Linked DNA regions of Homo sapiens: regions 1, 3, 4 and 5 are each linked to region 2. The links are contacts of gene promoters, found by promoter capture Hi-C in blood cells and fetal thymus (Javierre and others, 2016). All regions are on one chromosome and are shown on one strand. Each heading gives the region's core, a stretch centred on a gene start or on the middle of the fragment in contact. The rest is flanking DNA. Distances are from core to core; before and after follow the strand shown.

Evidence for each region. The method cuts DNA at HindIII sites, captures the fragments that hold promoters and counts their contacts. A CHiCAGO score of 5 or more calls a contact.
Region 1: a contact is called between a fragment that was not itself captured here and the fragment with the promoter of RAB13 in region 2, in 17 of 17 cell types (neutrophils, total CD8 T cells, non-activated CD4 T cells and 14 more). The highest score is 10.6, in neutrophils.
Region 3: a contact is called between a fragment that was not itself captured here and the fragment with the promoter of RAB13 in region 2, in 16 of 17 cell types (total B cells, naive B cells, monocytes and 13 more). The highest score is 16.8, in total B cells.
Region 4: the fragment with the promoter of SLC27A3 here is called in contact with the fragment with the promoter of RAB13 in region 2 in 17 of 17 cell types (neutrophils, M2 macrophages, naive CD8 T cells and 14 more); the score reaches 24.6 in neutrophils.
Region 5: a contact is called between a fragment that was not itself captured here and the fragment with the promoter of RAB13 in region 2, in 15 of 17 cell types (total B cells, M0 macrophages, naive CD8 T cells and 12 more). The highest score is 13.2, in total B cells.

Annotation. Positions count from the first base shown.
Region 1 is chr1:153,757,951-153,760,671 of GRCh38, forward strand. INTS3 (integrator complex subunit 3) reads left to right here. Exons shown (of 30, transcript NM_023015.5): 11 at 1,576-1,663; 12 at 2,361-2,440. Among named protein-coding and RNA genes, the nearest start is that of SLC27A3, 16 kb to the right of the region's middle. The HindIII fragment of the contact is 8,511 bases long and covers 1-2,721 here.
Region 2 is chr1:153,984,949-153,987,648 of GRCh38, forward strand. RAB13 (RAB13, member RAS oncogene family) reads right to left here and starts at 1,391. Exons shown (of 8, transcript NM_002870.5): 1 at 1,165-1,391. The coding sequence starts at 1,288. RefSeq lists enhancers at 450-679, 993-1,494 and a silencer at 1,306-1,475. The HindIII fragment of the contact is 17,219 bases long and covers 1-2,700 here.
Region 3 is chr1:153,851,928-153,854,627 of GRCh38, forward strand. The region is part of intron 1 of GATAD2B (GATA zinc finger domain containing 2B); the gene reads right to left. It also overlaps the pseudogene LOC645965. Among named protein-coding and RNA genes, the nearest start is that of GATAD2B, 70 kb to the right of the region's middle. The HindIII fragment of the contact is 670 bases long and covers 1,008-1,677 here.
Region 4 is chr1:153,774,092-153,776,791 of GRCh38, forward strand. SLC27A3 (solute carrier family 27 member 3) reads left to right here and starts at 1,316. Exons shown (of 10, transcript NM_024330.4): 1 at 1,316-2,073; 2 at 2,427-2,636. The coding sequence starts at 1,407. It overlaps INTS3 (integrator complex subunit 3), which reads left to right. Exons shown (of 30, transcript NM_023015.5): 30 at 1-717. RefSeq lists an enhancer at 1,717-2,383 and a silencer at 1,752-1,943. The HindIII fragment of the contact is 7,576 bases long and covers 1-2,700 here.
Region 5 is chr1:153,738,977-153,741,676 of GRCh38, forward strand. It overlaps INTS3 (integrator complex subunit 3), which reads left to right. Exons shown (of 30, transcript NM_023015.5): 2 at 1,675-1,758; 3 at 2,309-2,392. Among named protein-coding and RNA genes, the nearest start is that of INTS3, 12 kb to the left of the region's middle. The HindIII fragment of the contact is 7,056 bases long and covers 1-2,700 here.

The DNA of each region.
Region 1 (2,721 bases), core at 34-2,533, 230 kb before region 2:
TCTGGGTTTGAGATTGAACAGGTTCATCTCCCCCATTACTGCCAACCCCCAAAAGCCTGGGTTTCTGGAGCGTCCCTGCCTTTTTCATTTTTGCTTCCAGAAACCATATACAGCTATTCCTCTTAACTGTTTCTTTCTCAGATTCAGAGCTTGCATTCTTTAGACCCTCACCACCATGCCTTTTTGGCATCAGCTTTGTCTACTTCCCTTCTGTAAATGCAGCGAATCTGCAGTGGAGGCATTTCCTTTCAAATGTTTTCCTCTCTGTGCCTAGGGTGGGAAACTATCCATTCTCTGGCATCTGGCTGCCCCCTGACCTCTTCCAACAGGGTTCCTCCTCCCCCATTTGACTGGGTCCTTGGAATGTGCTGATTCAGATATGACAACAGGCTATTCCTGGAGGGGTGGGGGTCTCTTCTTCAGGAATGTGCCTGGAGAGCCCAGAAAGGGCAGCCAAGGGGTGCTAGTCTGACTGTTGCCTCAGCTCAGGGGTGATGAGTGGACTTCTGAGTCCAAGCATTGTCCCCTATGGGAATCAGAGATATGAACTGCTGGATGTATCAAGAACCCAGGCCTGCCGAGCACGGTGGCTCACGCCTGTAATCCCAGCACTTTGGGAGGTTGAGGTGGGCAGATTGCTTGAGCTCAGGAGTTTGAGACCAGCCTGGGCAACATGGCAAGACCCCATCTCTACAAAAAAATACAAAAATTAGCCAAGTGTGTTGGTGTGCGGCTGTAGTCCCAGGCTGAGGTGAGAGGACCGCTTGAGCCTGGGAGGTAGAGGTTGCAGTGAGCTGAGATCCTGCCACTGCACTCCAGCCTGGGTGACAGAGTCAGACCCTGTCTCAACAACAAAAAGAAAAGAACCCAGGCCTGGCCAGGCATGGTGGCTCTCACCTATAATCCCAATACTTTGGGAGGCTGAGGTGGGAGGATCACTTGAGCCCAGGAGTTCAAGACCAGCCTGGGCAACATGGCAAAACCCATCTCTACCAAAACAAAACAAAACAAAACATAAAGCCACGCATGGTGGTGTGCTCCTGTAGTCCCAGCTACCAAGGAGGCTGAGGCTGGGAGGATCACCCGAGCCTAAGAGGTCAAGGCTGGAGTAAGCCGTGATCATGCCACTGCGCTCCAGCCTGGGTGACATGGCAAGACCCTCATCTCTACAAAAAAATAGAAAAATGAGCCAGGTGAGGTGGTGCGTGCCTGTAGTCCCAGGCTGAGGTGAGAGGCTCTCTCGAGCCTGGGCGGTGGAGGTTGCAGTGAGCTGAGATCATGCCACTGCACTACAGCCTGGGCAACAGAGCAAGACCCTGTCTGGAAAAAAAAAAAAAAAGGTTCGGGGGGTACCTGGCCCAATCCCTGTCCTCTGTCCTCTTGGTTAAGACCATAAGACCACAGAGTATTCACTCATACACAACACAAGGGGGGTTAGCATTTCACCGTGTTTCACTAGGAACTGAATTTCATAGATGAAACAGCCAAGTGGGGCCTGGAATCTGTCTTGGGACTCTGAAATGGAGGGGGGTGATTGATGAAACTAGCCCTCTGTTTCTCCCCTCTCTTTTCCAGTCAAATGTCGCTGCCTCCAATGCCAAGCTGGCTTTGTTTTATGACTGGCTGTTCTTTAGTCCAGACAAGGATAGCATTATGAACATAGGTATGTGACCAAGACCAGGCGGCTCCACTTCCCCATCCCCCTAAGCCCCCACTGCCTTCCTTAGTGATAGCAGTCATAAATCTCAGGGCACCGTGGAGTGGAGGCAGTTTATCTGGGAGCAGCTCTGTTGTTCCTCATCAGTTTTCCCTTGACCTAGAAAGAGAATTGCTTTGATAAGGCTAAGCCATCACTGTACCTCCTCCCCACAGTCTTCAGGATGCATGGTCTTCAGGAGGGGAGGGCATGGGCAAAGGAAAAGGCTGTACCATGTCCTGCTTCTCCTCACCTATTACTTCCCTTCTCAAAGCTGAATGCTGGGAACAAGAAGGGAAATGAGGGCTACAAGCTGTTTCGGGGCCTGTCTGCTCTTGGGTCTGCTCAGTGGAAATGGGGGGAATAGACATAGCACTTCCCAGAGCCATTCATGTATATTGACATCCCATTTTATGGAGATAGAAACAGACTGACTTTAGCCTGGCGTGGTGGCGCACACCTGTAATTCCAGCTGCTGGGGAGGTTGAGGCATGAGATTCGCTTGAACCTGGGAGGCAGAGGCTTCAGTGAGCTGAGATCGTACCATTTGCACTCCAGCCTGGGTGACAGAGCAAGACTCTGTTTCAAAAAAAAAAAAAAAAAAAAAAAAAAGAGAGAGAGAGACTGACTGATGTGAGGGGCTCTTTAATTTCACATCCTCCAGAACCAGCCATCCTGGTCATGCACCACTCCATGAAGCCCCACCCAGCCATCACTGCCACACTCCTGGACTTCATGTGCCGCGTAAGTGTTAGAGCTCTCTTTTCTCCCCATGCCTGGATGAGCAGAATTCAGTGTATCTCCCCTAATCTCCCAGTGAACGGGTCTTCTCGGTATGCCTTGACTGAGAGCAGAAATGGTCATGGGTCCTATCCCCCAAGTTAATAAATGCTTCCCTTCCATATTCCACTGTCTGCACTTGGATCTTCCCATTTTCTGTGGGGTTTCTCAATCACAAGGATGGTGACTCAAGGTAGAATCTGGTTTCCTTGGGGAGCAGCCAGGTCCAGTAAGAATTTCTCATT
Region 2 (2,700 bases), core at 141-2,640:
TGTATTTGTATAGCAAGAATACTATTTTTACGTACATTTTATGGATTTTGGGAGGGAAAAGGTGACGAAAATTCTGCATGGAGGCTTAAAATCCTTAGGCTGCCTCTTGGGTCCATTCAGTTATACCAGCTGACAACTCTCTGAATTCAGTCTCTGTCTCCCCCCAGATATTACTTTCACATTCCTCTTCTCTGTTTTCTTAGAGCCCTCTACTCTTGGTATCCCACCTACCCTCCTAGTAGAGAGTAAGGAAAAAAGTAGCTGAAGCCAGTCTATGTGAATTAACTAGTGGGCCAAACTTGGCACTAGGAAAGTCTGAGGCTAAACAGGATTACTTTTGAGACAATTAGGAAAGAGGGGCATTTTTCCTTTTCCTTTGTAACCAGAATTGTCGTGAGACTCTTCCTGTCTATTTCCCAAGCCAGAGGAGATGAAGAAAGAAGAGAAGGGAGGAGGGGAGACAATGTTCTTCTTAGTAGAAACTTGGGCACCTCCCCCAAGCCTGCTGGGGGCCCCTGGGAGGAGGATGAGTCACCAGGCTGACTCAGAGACCCCAAAAGTCCCCTCATTTCCACGTTCCTCACCAAGCTGGCTGCATATTCATGATCACAGTCCTTGGGCCACCCTCCAGCACACCCAGCCACCTTGTTCCACCCTTCCCAAACCCTTGTTCAGCTGAGGTGCAGGGAGACTGGGGCAGGGAACCTGGGAAGTAGATGGTGAGGTGGGGACACAGTGGGAGAGTTTGAAGCTCAGCAAGACAGAAAGAGGCTAGCATCGGATCGGGAGAAAAAGATGTGGCGGACAGGGATACAGGAAACATGGAGATAGGATCGAGAGAGTTCTAGGTGGTGGGGGTAGGGGAAGAGGGGAACAGAGAAAAATAGAGAAGAGTTCTTGTGGATTTGGGGAGACTAAGGCGATGGTACCAAGAAAATGAGGAGCTGGCAGCAGTTGAAGAGTTACCTGAAGGCCTCAGAGAGGTGAGAGGTTTGGTTACTATACAGAGACATGCACGGGGGAAGGGTCAGAGCCAGGGGTTGAGGGACTAGAATTTAGGAGCCTTACTCTAAGGGGACTGAAAAGTGGGGTCACTAGTAATCCGGGAGCCGGAGAAGGAGGTCACAGGAGAGTCGGGGTCTGGGACATGGCCAGCGGGCTCACCGATGGTGGAGATGTAAGTGTTGTTGAAGTTGTCCTCTGCAAAGCGAATGATCAGACAAGTCTTGCCCACCCCCGAGTCCCCGATCAGCAGCAACTTGAAGAGGTGGTCGTAGGCTTTGGCCATGGCGGACACCGGGGGAGCCGGGGGAGGGGTGGGGAGCGCCCGGCACTGGTAGGCGGGACTGGACGGTTGGCAAACAGAGCGGCACGGAGCCCAGGCCAGGAAGAAGTTTTCCTCCCTCTCCGCCCAGGCTCCGGGAAAGAGGAGAGGCGGCACCCCTCCGGGCTCCACCCCCTGCCCGCCCACCCTTTTGAGCAGGCCAAGGCTGCCAGCCCGGCCTCTGTTCTCTCGGTTTTCCCTTCCTAGCTTAGGCCGGCCTGTCTCTCTCGCTATTTTCCACAGCCTTTCGGTAATTGTAGCTCCCCTCTTAGGACCTTACTCTTCCATTCTGAGGCCAGAGAGGCTGGGGTGAAGGGAAGTAGAGGTTTAACCACGACGACCAGAAATTTTAGAAGAGAAATTTTAGAGGGATTAGGGGAAGAGAACCAAGAGTTTTGGGAATAAGGGTGAAGGTAGGGAGAGCACTAGAAATTGAAAAAAAAAAATGGGGCTGAGTTTTGGAGATGCTATTCAACGAAGCTAGAAGATGAGTTATCATCGGTTTCTGGGGCTGAGTAAAAGGCAGTCCTAGAATTTTACTGTTAGTTGTCCAAGCCCTTAGTTCTATGGGTCCCAATTCACTTTGAAAAAAGCGGGATGCGCAGAAGTAGGTTATTTGTTGAGTCAGTCTGCCCCCTGGTGGAACAGGGTGAAAACGTAAATTAGTTATACAGAATCGGCCCCACCACCCCAACACACACAGCCTACCTAGACACATCCTGGGGCTTCAGTTGGAACGATCTCTCTTATGGGGACCCATGTGTGATTTCTCTGACCAAATAGCTTAGGAAAACAGAGATTTGAACTAAAAATGTCATTCTTTACGTGAATCTTTTAATATGGCCCACTTAAGGTGCAGTACTCCTGAAATCTCACTCAATAGGCCATGAATGTGTAGCCTTGGTAACCAGGAAGCTGAAATATGAACAGCACGGGTATAAAGAAACAAGTTTGCCGGGCGCGGTGGCTCACGCCTGTAATCCCAGCACTTTGGGAGGCCGAGGCGGGCGGATCACGAGGTCAGGAGATCGAGACCATCCTGGCTAACATGGTGAAACCCCATCTCTACTAAAAATACACACACACACACAAAATTAGCCGGGCGTGGTGGCAGGCGACTGTAGTCCTAGCCACTTGGGAGGCTGAGGCAGGAGAATGGCGTGAACCCGGGAGGCAGAGCTTGCAGTGAGCCGAGATTGCGCCACTGCACTCCAGCTTGGGCGACAGAGCCAGACTCCGTCTCAAAAAAAAAAAAAAAAGAAAGAAAGAAAGAGAGTAAAAGAGAAACAAGTTTATCTCTGCCTTTAGAAAAAAATTATTCTTGCTATATGTGTGCTGGGGGTGGAAAAAAATACGAAACACGAAAGAAAGAAAAT
Region 3 (2,700 bases), core at 93-2,592, 130 kb before region 2:
TGCTAAAGCCAGAAACTTTAAAGCTCTTAATCCAGCTGGAAATAACTATAATTGAGGGCCTTTTTACTAGCTACTTGCTTCCCAATTTAGGGTTGCCTAGCAGGGTTAATTTCAACATAACGAAAGGTGTTAACTGGCTGGCCGCATCATTCACTGGTGACAGGGGCAAGTTTAATGAGTTTTGTGCTCAGATCGCTGGGCCTCCTGGCTGCTCTTGTCCATCTCTGCACTTTGGTCCTAAGCATTCTGAGACTCAGTCAGTTGAGGGTGAAAGGGACCTACCAGCCAGTTGAGGGGCATGTTGTTAACAAGAAATCCATCAAGTCATCTAAAGATTCCTTCATTTTCTGCAGCTGCCCCTTGCTAGAAGTGGAGGCTGTCAGACACTTCCTCAAAGGAGGCAGCATTGCAGAACACTGAGTAGATGTCGCCTGCCATCACCCTCATATGCTTGGCCTGACCTTGGATGTTCTGTGGTCATCATGGATGTTGGACAGAAGGCCGTGGCATGTGGTCTGGAGCTGCTAAGTCAGGTTGCAGGCAATAGCAAGAGTACGTGACTCGATGTGCTCTGCACAGTGGGACTCATCAGTATCATCGTATCCAATATTCCTTTTCCACTCCACCCATGAGAGCTAGAGCTTATCCTGAGCATCCTGAATTTTCTGATTGGCACTATGCACACTCTTCCTGGCAAATTCAATCAAGTGAACAGAAGAACGGAGCTGAGAAATGGTCTCTTGGCTTTTTTGCTTAGCTTCTTTAACCCTGCTGAGAGCCTGCTCATACGAAGTGAAGCTTGGTAGACAGGGAGTGAAGCTTGGTAGACAGGGATCCCAGTCTAACATAACAACTTGGCTTCTGAACCATATCATATCCTTCAACTTTTTTTGCTTCTTTTTCTAGTTCTTCCCCAGTGAGAGGGAGGTACTGTCCTACCAAGAGCTCTGATTTGGTGAGCGCATGTTCCAAGCCACTGCTCATGAGCTGCATTATCTGACTTCCTAAGCTTGTGTTAATGCTGCCACTGACACAGACTTGGGTCTTCTCCACAGTGCCAGTCACTACCCCTTTGGTCTTGTCCATCAACCCTGTGATGAATCCTTGGCCCCAGTCACAGTAGTCGTCACAGCATCTTTTGCCCCAGTCACAGCACCTTTGGCATTGGCAACAACCTGAGTTGATGGCTGATTCAGAATAGGCAGTCTCTCCTCAATCCTGTCTAGCCCCTTACAGACACGGATATTGGCAACTGCAATTTGCAGCTCTAGCTTCTGGATGATGGGCAGAGCACACTGGTCATGGCCACCGAGGTGATGGTCTTCACACCCTTCCCTGCCATCTCACACACAGACTTCAAGTAGGACACTGGTCCTTTGTACTGACATGGGCTGAGGACATGGGGTCATATGTGGAGCTCATCAAGGGCAGGTTGACCACCCGAGTCATCACACTCAGTTGTGGATCAACTGCAACAGATGCCATTTTTCTTCCTGGAGAAATAAATCAACGGACGGCAGTGAAGCGCCTATTTTTTAATATACATATATTTTTTGCTACTGAGTTGTATGAGTTCCTTACATATGTTGGAGATTAACCCCTTATCAAATATATGGTTCACAAACATTTCCTCACATTTTGTAGATTGCCTTTCCATTCTGCTGTTTGCTGTGCAGAAGCTTTTTAGGTTGATGCAGTTCCACTTGCTTTTGTTGCCTGTGTTTTTGATGTCATATCCACGAAATCATTGCCAAGACCAATGTCATAATGCTTTTTCCCTGTTTTCTTCTTATGAGTTTTATAGTTTCAGGTCTTATGTTTAACTCTTTAATCCATTTTGGGTTGATTTTTGTGTACAGTACAAGATAATTTCATTATTTTGCTGTGGATATCCACTTTTCCCAACAACATTTGTTGGAGGGACTATCCTTGCCCTATTGATCCTTTCCTTATTGTATATTCTTGAGTCCAAACATAAATTTTCAGGAGACATTCCCATCTACCCCCAGCCAGAGCCCAAGCTGAGACACAGAAGTTTCCTTGTTTCCTCAAACTAGTAGATGGAATTTTCTGTGGTCCCTTCCTTTCTCTTGAGTATGAACCTTCAAGGCTCCCTGCTTTATATAGAGATTTGCATTTCTAACTCTGTTCCATACAGGCCTAAGGCTCATGGACATTAAAACGAAGCCTTTAGGCCAGGCACGGTGGCTCACACCTGTAATCCCAGCACTTTGGGAGGCTGAAACGGGCGGATCGTGAGGTCAGGAGATCGAGACCGTCCTGGCTAACATGGTAAAACCCCGTCTCTACTAAAAATACAAAAAAATTAGCTGGGCTTGGTGGTGGGCACCTGTAGTCCCAGCTACTCGGGAGGCTGAGAGAGGAGAATGGTGTGAACCCGGGAGGTGGAGCTTGCAGTGAGCCGAGATCTTGCCACTGCACTCCAGCCTGGGCGACAGAGCAAGACTCCGTCTCAAAAAACAAACAAACAAACAAACAAAAACCAAGCCTTTCAGTAACTGAGACTAGGCAAAGCACCCAGAAATACCACAGCATTAAGTAACATGCATACTGCTCATTTTCAGTTCCTCTTTCATTTGCAGTCCCTGAGAATTTTCCTTAATTCTTTCAGGCTCAACTAGCTATACATTTTTAAAAGTTTGTTTAAAAATTAAAAAATAGTTGTTACATTTCATCCAG
Region 4 (2,700 bases), core at 66-2,565, 210 kb before region 2:
GTGTCTGCTGGCATTTGCCCCGTGCATGTATAGCTTGGTCTTGATTTGATTGGCACCCCTACTTGTAACCGCAGAACATCCCCCTTTCCCTTCCTGTTCTGCCCCCACTTTTGTCTAGAGCAGAAGGGACTTGGCTTTGGCCACTACCCATCCTTCCTGCTGCCACTGGAGGTGGGAGCCAGGCACTGATCTGTCTATGCAGAACCATCCCCCGTAGGATGAGGCCTGTCCTTACTCATTTCTCAAGAAACAAGATGCTTCCAAAAGGTCTGTCATCCTCCAGTTGAAGTCTGTGTGCCTACCAAGAATGGCCGGAGGACTCGCTGCTTGACGGGAGGGATGCTCCAGCTTGGTCTCCAGGGACAACTGTACCTGGAGATAAAGTCTGGATACCAGGGAGGGACAGAGATGCTCTTCCTTCCACAGTGTGGCCACTTGCTGGGCCATGTGAACCAGCAGAGGAGAGTTCCTTGGCTATGCTGTTGTTCCCCCGCTGTCCAGGGAGAATGGAGGTGGACTGAGGAGTGAAGTTTGGGCGAACTGCACAGAGCTGCTCCTCTTCACCCCGAAAATTTGTCTTTTTACAGAATCCAGGTTCTCCCCTCCCTCATCACTGCTGTTGCTTCCTTTGAAAGTCTAAACCACTGGAGGCTTCTTTTTCCTTCCTCTCTCCTTCCCCAGTTTCCTCTGTCCCAATTAAAACCAGGATGGAGAGCATTTGCTGGCTGGCCCCAATTATTGTACCCTTGCCCAAAGGGAGGGGCCTCTGTCGTGACCCCTCAGAAATCTGGCAGTCTGGGTTTCCACCTTTCCCCTATTTAACTCTCAGCCCCCACCCATCCCCTGGGGTTGCGGCTGGCAGGCCGGGACTTGCAGAACCAAATGGGCCAGGGGCCAAGTTCATTCTTTTGGGAGAGAGCAATGGTACCTTCCCTTAACGGGAAAACGAGAAATATTGAGGGGAAGATGGACTGCGATCCAAACGCCCTGGCTCTCAGGCCTGGACTCTAGGGCTTAGCCAGATGCCTAAACCGCCCAAGCCGAGAAACAACTTAGAAGACAGACATAACCCTGGGATTCAGGGAAGGCGCGAGCACCGCCCAGGACCTGGTAGGGTGCGAGCCGCGAGCAGTCCGGGAGGGAGCGCGCCTAGGGCGGAGCGTAGGCTGTGGGGGGAGGGCTGGGAGTCCGGGGCCGCCCCACACCCGCACTCCTCCCGGGTTTCTGCTCTCCGCCCGTGTGGAGTGGTGGGGGCCTGGGTGGGAATGGGCGTGTGCCAGCGCACGCGCGCTCCCTGGAAGGAGAAGTCTCAGCTAGAACGAGCGGCCCTAGGTTTTCGGAAGGGAGGATCAGGGATGTTTGCGAGCGGCTGGAACCAGACGGTGCCGATAGAGGAAGCGGGCTCCATGGCTGCCCTCCTGCTGCTGCCCCTGCTGCTGTTGCTACCGCTGCTGCTGCTGAAGCTACACCTCTGGCCGCAGTTGCGCTGGCTTCCGGCGGACTTGGCCTTTGCGGTGCGAGCTCTGTGCTGCAAAAGGGCTCTTCGAGCTCGCGCCCTGGCCGCGGCTGCCGCCGACCCGGAAGGTCCCGAGGGGGGCTGCAGCCTGGCCTGGCGCCTCGCGGAACTGGCCCAGCAGCGCGCCGCGCACACCTTTCTCATTCACGGCTCGCGGCGCTTTAGCTACTCAGAGGCGGAGCGCGAGAGTAACAGGGCTGCACGCGCCTTCCTACGTGCGCTAGGCTGGGACTGGGGACCCGACGGCGGCGACAGCGGCGAGGGGAGCGCTGGAGAAGGCGAGCGGGCAGCGCCGGGAGCCGGAGATGCAGCGGCCGGAAGCGGCGCGGAGTTTGCCGGAGGGGACGGTGCCGCCAGAGGTGGAGGAGCCGCCGCCCCTCTGTCACCTGGAGCAACTGTGGCGCTGCTCCTCCCCGCTGGCCCAGAGTTTCTGTGGCTCTGGTTCGGGCTGGCCAAGGCCGGCCTGCGCACTGCCTTTGTGCCCACCGCCCTGCGCCGGGGCCCCCTGCTGCACTGCCTCCGCAGCTGCGGCGCGCGCGCGCTGGTGCTGGCGCCAGGTAAGGCTGGAGCTCCGAACTGACTAAGGCGGGGCCAGCCACAGAAGGGGGCGTGTCGGAGACCACAGAAAGGCTTGGTCTCATCCCTGGGCCTGGGAAGAAGCCGACTATCCCTTGGGGTTCGAAAGTGGGTGGAGATAGGAGTCTCCGGGTTTGAGAAGGGATGAGGCTGAATCTTTGGTGCCCCAAGGATCCCCAAGGAGTCGAGTTCCAGGCCTCAGACCCAAGATGGAATGTCCATACCCTTCACCCTCATCCAAGAGCAGTGTGGGCTGGGATAGGGAGGGGACATGGGTCATAGGCTCTTCTAGGTAGAGCCAGGGCCCCGGCGTTGTGCTTTCCCACCCTTCTAGAGTTTCTGGAGTCCCTGGAGCCGGACCTGCCCGCCCTGAGAGCCATGGGGCTCCACCTGTGGGCTGCAGGCCCAGGAACCCACCCTGCTGGAATTAGCGATTTGCTGGCTGAAGTGTCCGCTGAAGTGGATGGGCCAGTGCCAGGATACCTCTCTTCCCCCCAGAGCATAACAGACACGTGCCTGTACATCTTCACCTCTGGCACCACGGGTGAGGGCCGGGCACCATACTTAGCTCCCCGAAACCAAGGCAGAGGAAGGCAGGGGTCTGCTCC
Region 5 (2,700 bases), core at 146-2,645, 250 kb before region 2:
TCTGCCTCCCAGGTTCAAGCGATTCTCCTGCCTCAGCCTCCTGAGAAGCTGGGATTATAGGCGCCTGCCACCACGCCTGGCTAATTTTTTTTTCTTGTTTTTTTTGAGACGGAGTCTCACTCTGTCGCCCAGGCTGGAGTGAAGTGGCATGATCTCGGTTCACGGCAACTGCCACCTGCCGGGTTCAAGTGATTCTCCTGCCTCAGGCTCTCGAGTAGCTGGGACTACAGGCGTGTGCCACAATGCCCAGCTAATTTTTGTATTTTTAGTAGAGACAGGGTTTTTTCACCATGTTGGCTAGGATAGTCTTGATCTCTTGACCTCGTGATCCACCCGCCTCGGCCTCCCAAAGTGCTGGGATTACAGGCGTGAGCCACCGCGCCCGGCCGGAGTTTCACTCTTGTTGCCCAGGCTGGAGTGCAATGATGCAATCTCGGCTCACCTCGACCTCTGCCTCCTGGGTTTAAGCAATTCTCCTGCCTCAGCCTCCCGAGTAGCTGGAATTACAGACATGTGCCACCATGCCAGGCTAATTTTTGTAGAGACGGGGTTTCTCCATGTTCGTCAGGCTGGTCTCGAACTCCCCACCTCTGGTGATCCAACCCCCTCGGCCTCCCAAAGTGCTGGGATTACAGGTGTGAACCACCGCACCCAGCTAATTTTTGTATTTTTAGTAGAGACAGGGTTTCACCATATTGGCCAGGCTGGTCTCGAACTCCTGACCTCGGGTGATCTGCCCACCTCAGCCTCCCAAAGTGCTGGGATTACAGGCGTGAGCCACTGCATCTGGCCTAAGTCCCTTTTATTTTATTTTCTTTATTAAAATATATTTTTTTGAGACAGAGTCTCGCTCTGTCGCCCAGGCTGGAGTGCAGTGGCATGATGTCTGCTCACTGCAACCTCTGCCTCCCGGGTTCAAGCAATTCTCCTGCCTCAGTCTCCTCCTCCTGAGTAGCTGGGATTACAGGCGCACACCACCATGCCCGGCTAATTTTTTGTATTTTTAGTAGAGACGGAGTTTCACATGTTGGTCAGGCTGGTCTTAAACTCCTGACCTTGTGATCCACCTGCCTCGGCCTCCCAAAGTGCTGGGATTACAGGTGTGAGCCACCGTGCCCGCCCTATTTTATTTTATTTTTTTGAGACAGGGTCTCGCTCTGTCACCCAGGCTGGAGTGCAATGGCGCGATCTCTGCTCACTGCTGCCTCTGCCTCCCGGGTTCCAGAGATTCTCCTGCCTCAGCCTCCCAGGTAGCTGGGATTACAGGTATGTGCCACTGCGCCTGGCTAATTTTTGCATTTTCAGTAGAGACGGGGTTTCACCGTGTTGGCCAGGCTGGTCTTGAACTCCTGACCTCAGGTGATCTGCCCACCTCGGCCTCCTAAAGTGCTAGGATTAGAGGCATGAGCCACCACGCCTGGCCCTAAGTCTCTTAATATATGGGTTTCCCTCACTTTTTTTCTTGCGATTTATGTGTTAAAGAAATCAGGTCACCTGTTTATGGTTTCCACATTTTAGATTTTGCTGGTTTTATCCTCATGGTGACTTTATAAGTAAACTGGCAGCTAGATCAATGGGCATGATCAGGTTTGAATTGTTAAACTTTTAGGGGCCCAGAAGTACTTCCTAAGTGGTGTTATGACACACTGTTCATTTTTTCTCACCCCTTCCCAGAGATTGGAAAGGTGTATGAGCATTGTGACATCGATGACTGCTGGTGTCTCGGAGAGAGAAGCCAATGATGCCCTCAATGCGTATGTAAGTAGAATGCTGTCCCTGCAGCCACTGCTGCTGCTGTGAAGGTCTTGAAACATGGTCAAAAAGATGGAAAGACTAAGTGGTTGGGGGTAGGGGACTGAAATTCATCAAGTCTTGGCTCCCTGAATCAAATTTCTCAATTCTTCTCTTTTACTGTGGGAGCCTATCTCTTGGAGCCTTGGGCATCTTTCAGTACAGCTTTTTATTTTTATAGCAATGTGGTCTCGCTATGTTGCCCAGGCTGGAATGCAGTGATTGTTCACAGGCATGATTATAGTGCACTATAGCCTTGAACTTCTGGGCTCAAGCGATCCTTCTGCTTCAGCCTCTGGAGTAGTTGGGACTACAGGTGTGCACCACCACACCTGTCGTCCTTATCTCTCTTCTTTTTTTAAAAATCTCTTTTAAGAGAAGGAAATCATCAGATTTAAAAGTTGATTATTCTCCTTTGCATCTTCCTTAGGAGTCCCATGTTTTCTGGGAGAAACTGAGTTTGAGAACTTACTGCCTGTGAGTGACAACTAGTTTGTTTTCCTTTCTCACATTCCAGGTGTGCAAAGGCCTCCCCCAGCATGAAGAAATCTGCCTGGGCCTGTTTACTCTCATCCTCACTGAACCTGCCCAAGCCCAGAAGGTAAGGCACCCTGCTCTGGACCCATAAACCCTCCTCATATATGATCTGGGATATGGTGGAACTTACAGTTTAACTGGGGTAGTATGAAACTCTTCGACCAGAGCTGGATCACCTTGTTCTCCAAATATAGTTACAAGTCCCTTTTTACTCAGTGAATTGGTCATCCTCTGACTAAAGTCCTTTCTCTATCTCCAGATTCTGAAGCTAAATGGCAGTCATGAAAGTGAAAAAACAGAGTTTTAAATTTTAAATTTATGAGGCAAGGCTAAAAGGGTTGGGATTAAATCCAGGGAATAGAAGAGAACAAT